Linked DNA regions of Homo sapiens: regions 1 and 2 are each linked to region 3. The links are contacts of gene promoters, found by promoter capture Hi-C in blood cells and fetal thymus (Javierre and others, 2016). All regions are on one chromosome and are shown on one strand. Each heading gives the region's core, a stretch centred on a gene start or on the middle of the fragment in contact. The rest is flanking DNA. Distances are from core to core; before and after follow the strand shown.

Region 1 (3,937 bases), core at 799-3,298, 1.0 Mb before region 3:
GAGCATGGGGTGACTAGATTTTTTTAAAAGTTAATTCTAGAAATAAAACTTTGTGTCAAACACCTGACAGGAAGTTTCTGAATATGTAACAACTCAATGCACTCACAAGAGCTTTCCAAGACAGCTTATTAATTTGATTAGCACCGTACTGTGTCAAACTAAAAGGTGCCTCAATGCCCTTCAAAACAGATGTTCTAACTGACTTTTTAAATACCTGAATTACAATGATTTCTTACCCCTCAAAGTATCTTTCTAGGGGTAATAAAGACACTTTGGGGGTATTTCATTTAAAATACCTCCTTAACAAGTAGTCTGTTGGCTTCAAAAGACCCTTTCTGCTTGCCAGTTTTTTTGACCCCAGACATGAAAGGCATGGATGAAATGAAAAACAGAATGAATCCGAGAAATGGAGAGTAAGAAAGGTGACAAGGGTCATTTATAAACACTTCATATTCAGCTTCCAAACCTCTCACACTTTAATTTCAGAACGAAGGATGTTTTGTTTTTTAGGGGTCGGTGTGCAGAAAAGTTTCTCATATATAACAAAGATTACTTGATATTCATTTTGAAATACAGTCTAGAAACAAGCAGGATTCTTGTCTAAAATCCATGGAATTCTGACCCAAGCGTTTCAGTCTTATCAAGATTTAAGGGTCCTATGCCAGGCACAGTGGCTCAAGCCTATAATCCCAGCACTTTGGGATGGCCTTGGGAGGCCAAGGCAGGAGAACACTTGGGCTCAGGAGACCAGCCTGGGCAACATGGCAAAATCCCCATCTCTACCAAAATAAAATAAAAAAAAATTACAATAAATTAGCCAGGCATGGTGGTGTGTGGCTGTAGTCCAGCTACTTGGGAGGCTGAGGTGGGAGGATCACCTGGGCCTGGTAGGTTGAAGCTGCAATGAGCCAAAATTGTGCCATTATACTCTAGCCTGTGAGGATGTGTCTCCAAAAAAAAAAAAAAAAAAGATTTAAGGGACCTAAACATGCACATAATTCCAAAACTGTAAGGAAATGTTTTACAGAAACATGGTAGATTAGGGATTTTAAAATTATAAGAATGAAATTAAGAAACTGGACCTTAACTGTGATAAAAAGATTACCATAGTTTTCTTTAGTAAATATGTTGAATATCGGTGCTAAAACCAAATGGCATTCTACTCAACTGCCTTGTGACATTGGATACTATTTCCCATAAAACTAGTTAAGTAGCTACCATCAATATCTCTTTCTCTCTTAATTTGAGGACTGCATAAAATACACATTTTCTCCCTCAAAGCTCCCTTTTCTTAACAAACCGAACATCAAAGCTTTCTCCAATAAAGGGCAGTTCACATAAATATAAAAAAGAAAATGTGCTGGGCAAAAACACATTCCTGGCTTTCTGGGTTTGAATTACGTATCATTTATTTCCTGGGCTAGGAAAAAAAAATTGGTTACACAAAGTCACAAAACTCTTAAATTTCCGGACAGGATTCTTTTAACTATAACTTACCCAGTCTAAAGTTGCATTCACATGCCTGTAATCCCAGCCCTTTGGGAGACCCAGGTGGGTGGATCACTTGAGGCCAAGAGTTCGAGACCAGCCTGGCCAGCAAGACAAAACCCCATCTCTACTAAAAATACAAAAAAAAATTAGCTGGGTGTAGTGGCGCATGCCTGTAGTCCCAGCTACTTGGGAGGCTGAGGCATGAGAATCGCTCAAACCAGGGAGGCGGAGGTTGCAGTGAGCTAAGATGGTGCCACTGCACTCCAGCCTGGGTGACAGAGTGAGACTCTGTTTCAGGGGAAAAAAAAAAAAAAAGCTGCATTCAATTGTTGGGTCGAAAAGATGGATAACGCCTAGCCCTAATGATTCGATTGTGTAATACTCCAGTAAAATATGAAACCTGAATATATGACGATTAAAATTGCCTTAATATCCTTTAATTCCATTCATATTGTCTCTCCTCTCATTCATAAATACTCAATATGTCAAGATGGCCCAAACTTCTTATAAACCCATCTGTTCTGTGAAATGTGACTGTTGTAGTTAAGGGATGCTTGTGAGGCACTTAAATAAAGCTATTTCTCAACTGTTCATGACCACCACCAGTTTTTCCTCTCCTTAGGCAGAGGATTACACATAGCTCCAATTATCAAAGGGTATGACACTTGTTTTTAAAAGGTGGGGAAGCAGACAGTATTTTCACATAATATCATTTGAGCAAATAAATTCTTCCTTAATATTTTTGAGTCATGATATGCCAGCACTGCTGTTCCTTAACCTAATACAATTATACTTAGGTCTGCATTGTAAATGGAAAACTGGTCTTCTACATGACAAGATTTACTCTACCTAAACTACAGGCTGGAGGTGGGGGACCTCCCATTTCAACTAAAAGAATCCATGTCACACCTTAAGTGTGATAAAAATTTAGTGACTAAAAAAATACCCTAACCTAATTGTAACTTCACTTCTTCTCATTCCATCAGTAACTTTTAGAACACCGAACTGCTAAAAAATACACATCAGCATTACTGATCTGAGAAAAAGAAACCAAAACAAGTTCAGAGTCAGGAAAGACTGCTTGTCACATTTATCTACTGTTAAGTTCCCAATATTATCAAAATACTTTTGAAAAGGAGAAAGAATCTAACGATTCTTATCAGTGGCTTATTTGTACTCTATGGTAGCAGCCTATTTTTCAGTACCTTAGTATCAACAGTCACGTAAAATCTAGCAACTACTACTTTAAAAAAAATCAGTACTTTTGATCTTCACCGAATTGATAAAGCTTAAGAGTAATGTGATGAACTAACAGTTTAACTACTTAATTGCCGTATTACTAATTCTGGAATTGACACACAAGACAAGAGCGGTGACATCAGAACATTTCAAGATCCAAAAACAATTCCAATACTGATTAAATCCTCAAAAATATTAAAGTTCAGATCCCTTATCCACAACACAGGCAAGCAACTCCAAATAAATAAATGCGAGGAGGGAGGAAGGCAGGACATAAAATTTGCCATCAAACTCCACAATGTTGTTAGGTTAGAAAATTGTTTTTTTGGTTTTTTTTTTGTTTTTTTTTTTGCTGATTGAACAAACAAGCTTTGCACAGGCTCTCCTGCCCTCCTGATGGAAAATAAGTTAGAAAACGCCCTAAGACAAGCACTCAAAGAGTCTAGATAGCTATCCCCCTCTCCTCCCTCCCTCATTTTAAAAAACAGCGAGAAGAATAATCAGGCTTCCACGTTTTGGGTTAGCCTGTTACAGATGACCCAAGTATGCAGAAATAAAATAAACCAGTGAAACTCCAAGGCCAACTGCTGCAAACCTTGGCTATCAATGAAAGTTGTATCCAAAGTACTAGAACGAACAGTCCCCACTAGAGACATAATGGCGGTTAGCTTCCTGCCAGGCACCTTCTAGCTAGTATCTCTCTCCAGCCACCAAATATCTTAAGACCAAGCGGCCCTTACCTTCTTTCGTCTGCGCATTGGTGATCTGCAGGTCGCAGTCGGCAGCTTTCAGCTTCTCTCTCCCCATAATCTGCTTCTTTAAGTCGCAGAGGGAGATGTGGAGCCCATCAAAGGTGACGGTATCATAGTTGAGTTTAGAGGAAAATTTATAATGCACACAGGACATGGTGCCAAGGGATTCCTAAGGTTCAGCGAGGAGACGTGGACACTCTCAATATACGTATATTTATAAACTTTAAGAGCAAAATATGTACACACAAAACACTCAAAGACACCGAAGGACCCTAAGGCCTCAGATTAAATACCCCCCAACCACAAGCAGGGGTTCGTCAGAACAATAATCCAGAGACCCCCCGATACTCAGAATCACTTCATGGGGGAGGAGGAGGACGAGGACGGGGAAGAGGGGAAATCGAGAATCCGCCAACGGGCACAATGTCACCCGGCTGGGTCCCCCTCGCTCATGC
Region 2 (3,711 bases), core at 931-3,430, 1.9 Mb after region 3:
CACAAAGAAACAATTGTGAATGGCCATGAATTCCTGGCGATCTCAACTCCCACAAAGCACAAACATCGCTGCTGCTCATAGGCTCCATCAGCGGCAGCAACGTTCGTCTGGGGACACAGGTTACCACACTGAACACAGCACTCTGGGGAGGCCAGGGTGCGGACAAGAAAGCAGGCAGGAGATTAAGTGATTGGATCGAAGGAAAGCTTGTAAGGAGCAAGAGTCACAGATGGACCCCAAACTTCTGAGTCCAATACGGTGCCACCTCTATGCAGGCCTCCTGCACAGGGACTCTGTTCCCCTGAAGCCTCTCTAGGGCTGGCCTCCAGTGAACAGACATCATGTGACCCAGCAGGTCAAGGTCAGAAAACAGGAGGAGTTGGGGCAAGTGAGGACCACTGGTGTTTATTTTTAGTCTTATTTATATTGGGATTAAGGTAAGAAAAATAACAGAATGGCTGGGTTTCCTACCTCAAAAATATAATAAAAGCACAAAGTGAGGTGGCAGGCCCATTAACCCACTCATCTGCTTCCTCCCACAGGTGCTGTGGGCGCCTGTACTCTCTCTGTCACACAACCGTGGTACCTAGAAGTGGACTACACTCATGAGGCCGTCACCATAAAGTGTACCTTCTCCGCAACCGGATGCCCTTCTGAGCAACCAACATGCCTGTGGTTTCGCTACGGTGCTCACCAGCCTGAGAACCTGTGCTTGGACGGGTGCAAAAGTGAGGCAGACAAGTTCACAGTGAGGGAGGCCCTCAAAGAAAACCAAGTTTCCCTCACTGTAAACAGAGTGACTTCAAATGACAGTGCAATTTACATCTGTGGAATAGCATTCCCCAGTGTGCCGGAAGCGAGAGCTAAACAGACAGGAGGAGGGACCACACTGGTGGTAAGAGGTCAGTCAGCGAGGCTTTATTTCAGTGCATCATTGCATCTTGTTCAGGCCTGTAAAATCATTACCTCACTCACATGTAGAAATCAGGAGATAAATTTGCTAAGTTAATACCCTAGCCAGTGATGGGTGTGATCTGAACACAAGTCACCATGAGGTTTGGACTAAAGAACTACTCCAACTGGCTGGGCGTGGTGGCTCACACCTGTAATCCCAGCACTTTGAGGCTGAGGTGGACGAATCACTTGAGGTCAGGAGTTCAAGACTAGCCTGGCCAACATGGTGAAACCCCATCTCTACTCAAAATACAAAAATTAGCCGCGCATGGTGGCATGCACCTGTAGTCCCAGCTGCTTGGGAGGTTGAGGCAGGAGAATCGCTTGTAACCCAGGAGGCGAAGGTTGCAGTGAACCGAGATCGCACTACTGCACTCCAGTCTGGGCAACAAAGCAAGACTCCATCTCAGAAAAACAAAAGAACTACTCCAATCCATCTCGAACATCCACTAACACAAAGTCAGTGATTTGCTGGGTGCTCTATTCTCCCTACATGGTGATGTTTAACCAACCATGTTCACCTCTTTTGTATATTACAGTGATTTAGTGTAAAGTACCATGTCCAAAGGGAACCTTGTGGTGAGTAACTATCAGCTTTCTCAGGAACTAGTCTGGTAATGCACCACCTAGAACAAAGCACTAGAGAAGTGTAAAAGATCAATAAATTGGACCCACAGAAACTATGCAACATGGAGAATAAGCACAGATTTGGAGAGAAGCTACTCAGGGATCCCTGACCCTTCCCATTCTGCCTGGACATCAGTGAACGGAAAGTGATGACTCTCACTTCCTGAGATTTGATAAAACCCATGACAATTCCTCAGCCGAGCGAGGACATCAAACATAGCTAAATCCTATCAGTAATTTCACCAAGTCATTCCCTTGAGTAAACTGAGATTAAGACATTCCCGAGAAAAAAAAAGGGGGAATTTCAGAGAAAAAGCTTTACATGATTCTGAAGGAAAAAAGAGAACAGCAGCAACTCCTCGCCTTGTTGGGGTCTCTTCCCTTAGGAAGGACCCTGGTATGATGAGCAGAGATTGTTAAAACATGAACTCAAAATCAACCAGCCCTTCGATTTCAAAATAGGACTCTGAGGAAGGGAGACCATCCAGTATTATAACCTGTGCTTTTAAACTACGAGGGTTCTAATGGGCTTTTGATATTCAAATGTCATTTAACCTTAGTTTATTCTCATCTGTCAGCTAAATTATAAATAAGTTAAGGCACTTAAAGCATTTTTAATAGTGCCTGGCATATAGCAAATAACAAATGTTAGCTACTGATATGAAAACACACACAGCTTTAGAGATTTGTATGTCTCACTGCATTAGCCTTCTAAAAACATGTTAGTCAAAGGGAAAAATGGCTTGTAAAAAGATGAAGGTCTCAAAGCTGCAAGGCTTATATAAAGTGAAGTGAAAGTGAAAGGCAGAATTGAAAGTGTTAAGGCAGACATGGCAACTTCCTGTCTCTTCTACAGAACTCCTATTTTCACACTGAAGCTTTTTTATTTTAGTTGTATAGATGTGGTTAATTTGTTAGTTTCACAAATAAAAATGTATGCTGCATAAACTGCATTCACAGGATAAGCATCTATGGGATTTTTCTTTCTTTTTTTTTAAGACAAGAGTCTTGCTCTGTCGCCCGGGCTGGAGTGCCGTGGCGTGATCTCAGCTCACTGCAACCAACCTCCACCTTCCGGGTTCAAGCGATTCTCCTGCCTCAACCTCCTGAGTAGCTGGGATTACAGGCATGTGCGACCACGCCCAGCTAATTTTGGTATTTTTAGTAGAGATGGGGTTTCGCCATGTTGGCCAGGCTGGTGTCAAACTCCTGATCTCAAGTGATCTGCCCACCTCGGCCTCTCAAAGTGCTGGGATTACAGGCATGAGCCATCACACTCAGTCTCATCTATGGGATATTTAGTTGGAAAGTACAGGCTATTCAGACAGTAAGTACAAATCTAATTGTATTTTGTACTCCAAATAGTCAGGTAATTGAAGACATGGCATGTTACTTAATCCCTACCCAGAGCACAAGACAATTTCTGCAAGGAGAGAGAAATTCCGAATGTGAAAATGGATTCAATAACTCTATTTCCAGAATTTTATCATAAAGAAAGAAGAGCACATTTGGCAAAAGTGCCTGTCTTTCAAGCACGCAGTGAGCACTGCGCTCCTCAATGTATGGCCTTCCCAGGTTCTTTCACAGATGGGACTCTTCAGCTATGTGTACTAGTTCCAAGGCTATAAATATCACCCTTAACAAATACATATGAAAATATCTTAACCACATAGGCAGACTCTTGATGATACTGGTAAACCGTTTCTACCAAAAGAGATTTTAGATGCCCTTGAACAAACTGTCTGGAAATGTTTATCTAACTTCAAATAATCCTTTATCTAAAAAGTGATGCTTAGCAATATGACAAATGGTTGGTTGAATTTTTTTAATGTTTAAAAACGAGTAACATTTTTGGTTTAACACATTTAAAGAACTGATGAACTGGCTTTAACTATTACATACTTGAGTACCTTTTGAGGTCTAGTTTTTATACGAATAGGCAAGCAGAGTAAGTTCACGTTTCACCTCTAAAACGCAGTGTGAAGGATACTTTACACATGTATTTGAAAGAATAGGCTTTAATAGTCAATGTGCTTCTTTCTGTTTTTGTCATTAAGAAATTAAGCTGCTCAGCAAGGAACTGCGGAGCTTCCTGACAGCTCTTGTATCACTGCTCTCTGTCTATGTGAC
Region 3 (3,859 bases), core at 238-2,737:
AGTTGATACCAATGCAAAATAATTCTTGCCTATAAATAGGTAAATTCCGCTCACTGGAGGGACAGCTCTCACCCCGGTCGAAAAGCCAGTTTTGCCTCCATTTGCACATTCGTCTTATCTTCCTTTTTTTCCAGATAAATTTGCCCTTCTTTGACTTCACTTTTGGATTGATTATAACATCTGCTTGGTTCCCTCATGTAATTAAATAAAATATTTAACACGTATTCATTTCATAATTATGATAATCATGACATACTTTTTTGGGAAAATTATCTTTTAACAGAATAAGCAAGTAAATAATACATCGATGGTGTACTGTGTGATGCAGAAAATAAAGCAGAGTATTGAGGAATGCAGGACATGTTAGTTTAGAAGTGTTCCAGGAAACCAGGGAGGTGGAGGTTGCAATGAGCCGAGATAGCACCACTGCACTCCAGCCTGGGCGACAGAGCGAGACTCCATCTGAAAAAAAAAAAAAGTGTTCCAGGAAAACCCTTCTGTGAATAAAAATGCAAGCACATAGGCCGGGCGTGGTGGCTCACCCCTGTAATCCCAGCACTTTGGGAGGGCGAAGCGGGCAGATCACGAGGTCAGGAGTTCGAGACCAGCCTGGCCAACATAGTGAACCCTCGTTTCTACTAAAAATACAAAAAAAAAAAAAATAGCTGGGTGTGGTGGCATGCACCTGTAGTCCCAGCTACTCGGGACGCTGAGGCAGGAGAATCGCTTGAACCCAGGAAGTGGAGGTTGCAGTGAGCCGAGATGGCACCCCTGCACTCCAGCCTAGGCGACAGAGTGAGACTCCGTCTCAAAAAAAGAAAAAAAGAAAAATAAAAAATAAATGCAAGCACTTTGGGAAGTCGAGGTAAGAGGATCTTGTAGCCCAGGAGTTCGAGACCACCCGGGCAACATGGTGAAACCCAGTCTCTAACACACACACACACACACACACACACACACACACGGTGAAACCCAGTCTCTAACACCAGGAGTTCGAGACCACCCGGGCAACATGGTGAAACCCAGTCTCTAACACACACACACACACACACACACACACACACACACACACACGGTGAAACCCAGTCTCTAACACACACACACACACACGCCAGGCGTGGTGGTGCCCTCCCCTAGTCCCAGCTCCTCCGGAGACTGAAGCGGGAGGATCGCTTGAGCCTAGGAGGTGGAGGCTGCAGTGAGCCGTGATCGCGCCATTGGACTCCAGCCTGAGTGACAGAGCAAGACCCCGTCTCTTAAAAAATAAAAATGCTAAAAGAATTATTCGTGTTCTTCTGAAAATCAAATTTAACTGGGCGTCTTGTATTTTATCTGGCAACCGTACGGTGAGTGGTCTTAGAAGACCAGCGCTGGGTGGAGGGATCTGGACTAAGAAATGTTCCGGCCGGTCCCGCGTGGAGGGGGGGCCTGGGGTGGGCGTGGCGCCAGCGGCCCCGCCCCGTCACGTGTCCACCGCTCCTGCCGCGCAGTCAGCAGAGGAGAGCGCCAGGACGCTACAGCGGCTGAAGAGGCAGTGGCGCCCGCGGCCGCAGCGTCGGGGCTGGAGCGATGGCGGCGACCGCGGTGGCGGCGGCTGTGGCGGGAACCGAGTCGGCCCAGGGTCCCCCGGGCCCGGCAGCGTCGCTGGAGCTGTGGCTCAGTGAGTAGCCTGGCAGGCCTTCGGCGCAGCCGCTGCGCCGCACGTGAGGCCTCGCTTCCCGCCTCCCGGGGCCTTGCTTCGGGGCGGGCGGCCGCAGGGGAGGCCGGCGGCCGGGTAGGGGGCCTGGGCCCGGCGCGGTGGGGAAGATCGCCCAGGGGTCCCCCGAGAGGAGCCCCAAGCATCCGCCGGGGCAGCGGCCCCCTTCTGAGCTCTGCCCCTCCCCCTCCGCCCACCCCCCAACTTAGCAGCAGCACAGGACCCCGACCCCCACCCCAATGGCTACGTGACCTGCGCTTTCCCCTGCGCCAGGCACTGTGCTCACAGCGGCTTAGTCCTGCTTAATCCTCATTCCCACCCCGAGCTGGCTTCTATTATTAACCCCACTACGGAAGCGGGGACCTTGAGGCTTAAGGAGACGCAGTCGTGCAAGACATGCAGTCTGTTTGGGGCTGAGAAAGATCTCTATCTGGCTACCGCGTCAAAAAGAAATTTTTTACCTTTTGTGTTTACTTTGGCCAGACTTTTTTTTTTAAACACACACACACGTGTGTGTGTGTGTGCGTATATATATATATGTGTGTTTTTTTTTTCCTTTAAGAGACGGGGTCTCATTATGTTACCCTGGTTGGGCTCAAACCCTTTGGCCAGAATTCTTCTGCATGTCTCCTGTAAGCTTCACAGTCATCTTAGGGGTTATTATTATCTCCGTTTTACCAATGAGGGATTGAGGTTCAAAGGGGATAAAGAATATTCCCCTTGTACCCAGCTCTGCTAGGTGCCAGGAACACTGAGATGCATAACACAGGGTCCTTGCTCACCAAAACATTTTTTAGTGGGTACAAGCCGGCAGTCACATCACCTTACTAACGGGATTGGCGAGGAGGAGGAGGGCGTTCGTTTCACCTGTGGTGGTAGGAGTTGGTTTACCTGGGGGTCGTCACAGCCGACCGCATTCCAGGCAGAAGAAACTGCGTGTGCAAAAGCTGGGGACAAGAGAATGTGGAGCACTCCGGGAACAAGTAGGTCAGTCCGCTGGAGTGCAAGCCTAAAGCTCAGGAATCCGGGAAAGGGGCTGCACGGCTAATTGGGGCGAGATCTTCAAGAGCCTTGTGTGCTGCAGAAAGGAGTTTATGTTTTATCCGAGGGCGGGGTTGCTGTTTGGGAGTTTTCAGCCGGAGAATCTGATCAAGGAAGCCTGTTAAAGGCGTCACTTGCAGCCATATGGTGCTAAATTGGGCGGAGAGGGTGAGACTTCAGGCAGGGAGAGCGGCTAAAAAGCTCTTTTGGTGGTGGTTGGGGGCCGCAGGAGGACTAAGGCAGTGGGGAGAGGGAGAAGCAATGAGCAGGCGTAGTCAGCAGCCTCGGTGCCTTGGAATGCAGACAGGGGACAAGGAGAAATCTAGGCTAGATCGCGGGTTTCAGGCTCGAGGAACTGGTGGGTTACAGATGCCTCCCCTGTGAGGAGGAGCTGGTTTAGGCAGAGAAGGTTGAGATGTGGAGTTTGAGGTGCTTGTGGCATAGTCAAAAAAGAGATGCCCTCTAGGCAGCTGGTTGGCACTGGAGAGGGCAAGTGTGGGACGTACGGTTTGGGAGTCTGGTTCATTGGCAGTGAGCTTGCGGGAGAAGCTTGCGTATATTAAGAGCAGAGGTTTGGAAAGAGAGCGTGGGGAGCCCCAGCATTGAAGAGGCAGATGGGAAGAGAAGACTGAAGGCTGAGCAGAAACAGGCAGGGGGAGACCTGCAGGGGCACCCACTGATAGCAAAGGAGGGATGTGGTTGTAACGTAGTTTTGCTCCTTAAAGATGGAGGAGAATGAGGAAGGAGAAGAGAGAACTTTGAATTTGGTAACCAACCAGTTATTTAATGAGACATCCTTGAGTTAAACAGTAGAGACAGAAGGTAGTAGTTTTAGGAGGCAATGGAGAACAGAAGGCTTAGACTGGAGTTGCAAAAATTAGAAAAAAAGGCTGTTCATGCCTGTAATCGCAGCACTTTGGGAGGCTGAGGTGGGCCAATCCTTTGAGGCCAGGAGTTTAAGACCAGCCTGGCCAACATGGTGAAACCCCGTCTCTACTAAAATACAAAAAATAGCCATGTGTGGTGGCGCACACCTGTAATTCCAGCTACTTGGGAGGCCGAGGTGGGAGGATCACTTGAACCCTTGGGGCAGAGGTTGTGGAGGTGGAGCCAAGATTGCAC

Evidence for each region. The method cuts DNA at HindIII sites, captures the fragments that hold promoters and counts their contacts. A CHiCAGO score of 5 or more calls a contact.
Region 1: a contact is called between a fragment that was not itself captured here and the fragment with the promoter of GGA2 in region 3, in 2 of 17 cell types (total B cells and M0 macrophages). The highest score is 6.1, in total B cells.
Region 2: a fragment that was not itself captured here is called in contact with the fragment with the promoter of GGA2 in region 3 in 1 of 17 cell types (total B cells); the score reaches 5.9 in total B cells.

What each region holds. Positions count from the first base shown.
Region 1 is chr16:24,540,326-24,544,262 of GRCh38, reverse strand. RBBP6 (RB binding protein 6, ubiquitin ligase) reads right to left here. Exons shown (of 18, transcript NM_006910.5): 1 at 3,471-3,937. The coding sequence starts at 3,636. Among named protein-coding and RNA genes, the nearest start is that of RBBP6, 2.7 kb to the right of the region's middle. RefSeq lists an enhancer at 3,047-3,937. The HindIII fragment of the contact is 1,467 bases long and covers 1,315-2,781 here.
Region 2 is chr16:21,644,324-21,648,034 of GRCh38, reverse strand. The region is part of intron 4 of METTL9 (methyltransferase 9, His-X-His N1(pi)-histidine); the gene reads right to left. It overlaps IGSF6 (immunoglobulin superfamily member 6), which reads left to right. Exons shown (of 6, transcript NM_005849.4): 2 at 543-902; 3 at 3,639-3,711. LOC124903663 (a long non-coding RNA gene) reads right to left here and starts at 3,639. Exons shown (of 2, transcript XR_007065025.1): 1 at 2,859-3,639; 2 at 568-1,103. RefSeq lists an enhancer at 2,310-2,489. The HindIII fragment of the contact is 562 bases long and covers 1,900-2,461 here.
Region 3 is chr16:23,508,122-23,511,980 of GRCh38, reverse strand. GGA2 (golgi associated, gamma adaptin ear containing, ARF binding protein 2) reads left to right here and starts at 1,487. Exons shown (of 17, transcript NM_015044.4): 1 at 1,487-1,660. The coding sequence starts at 1,570. RefSeq lists silencers at 1,211-1,260, 1,331-1,560, 1,631-1,800. The HindIII fragment of the contact is 8,010 bases long and covers 1-2,335 here.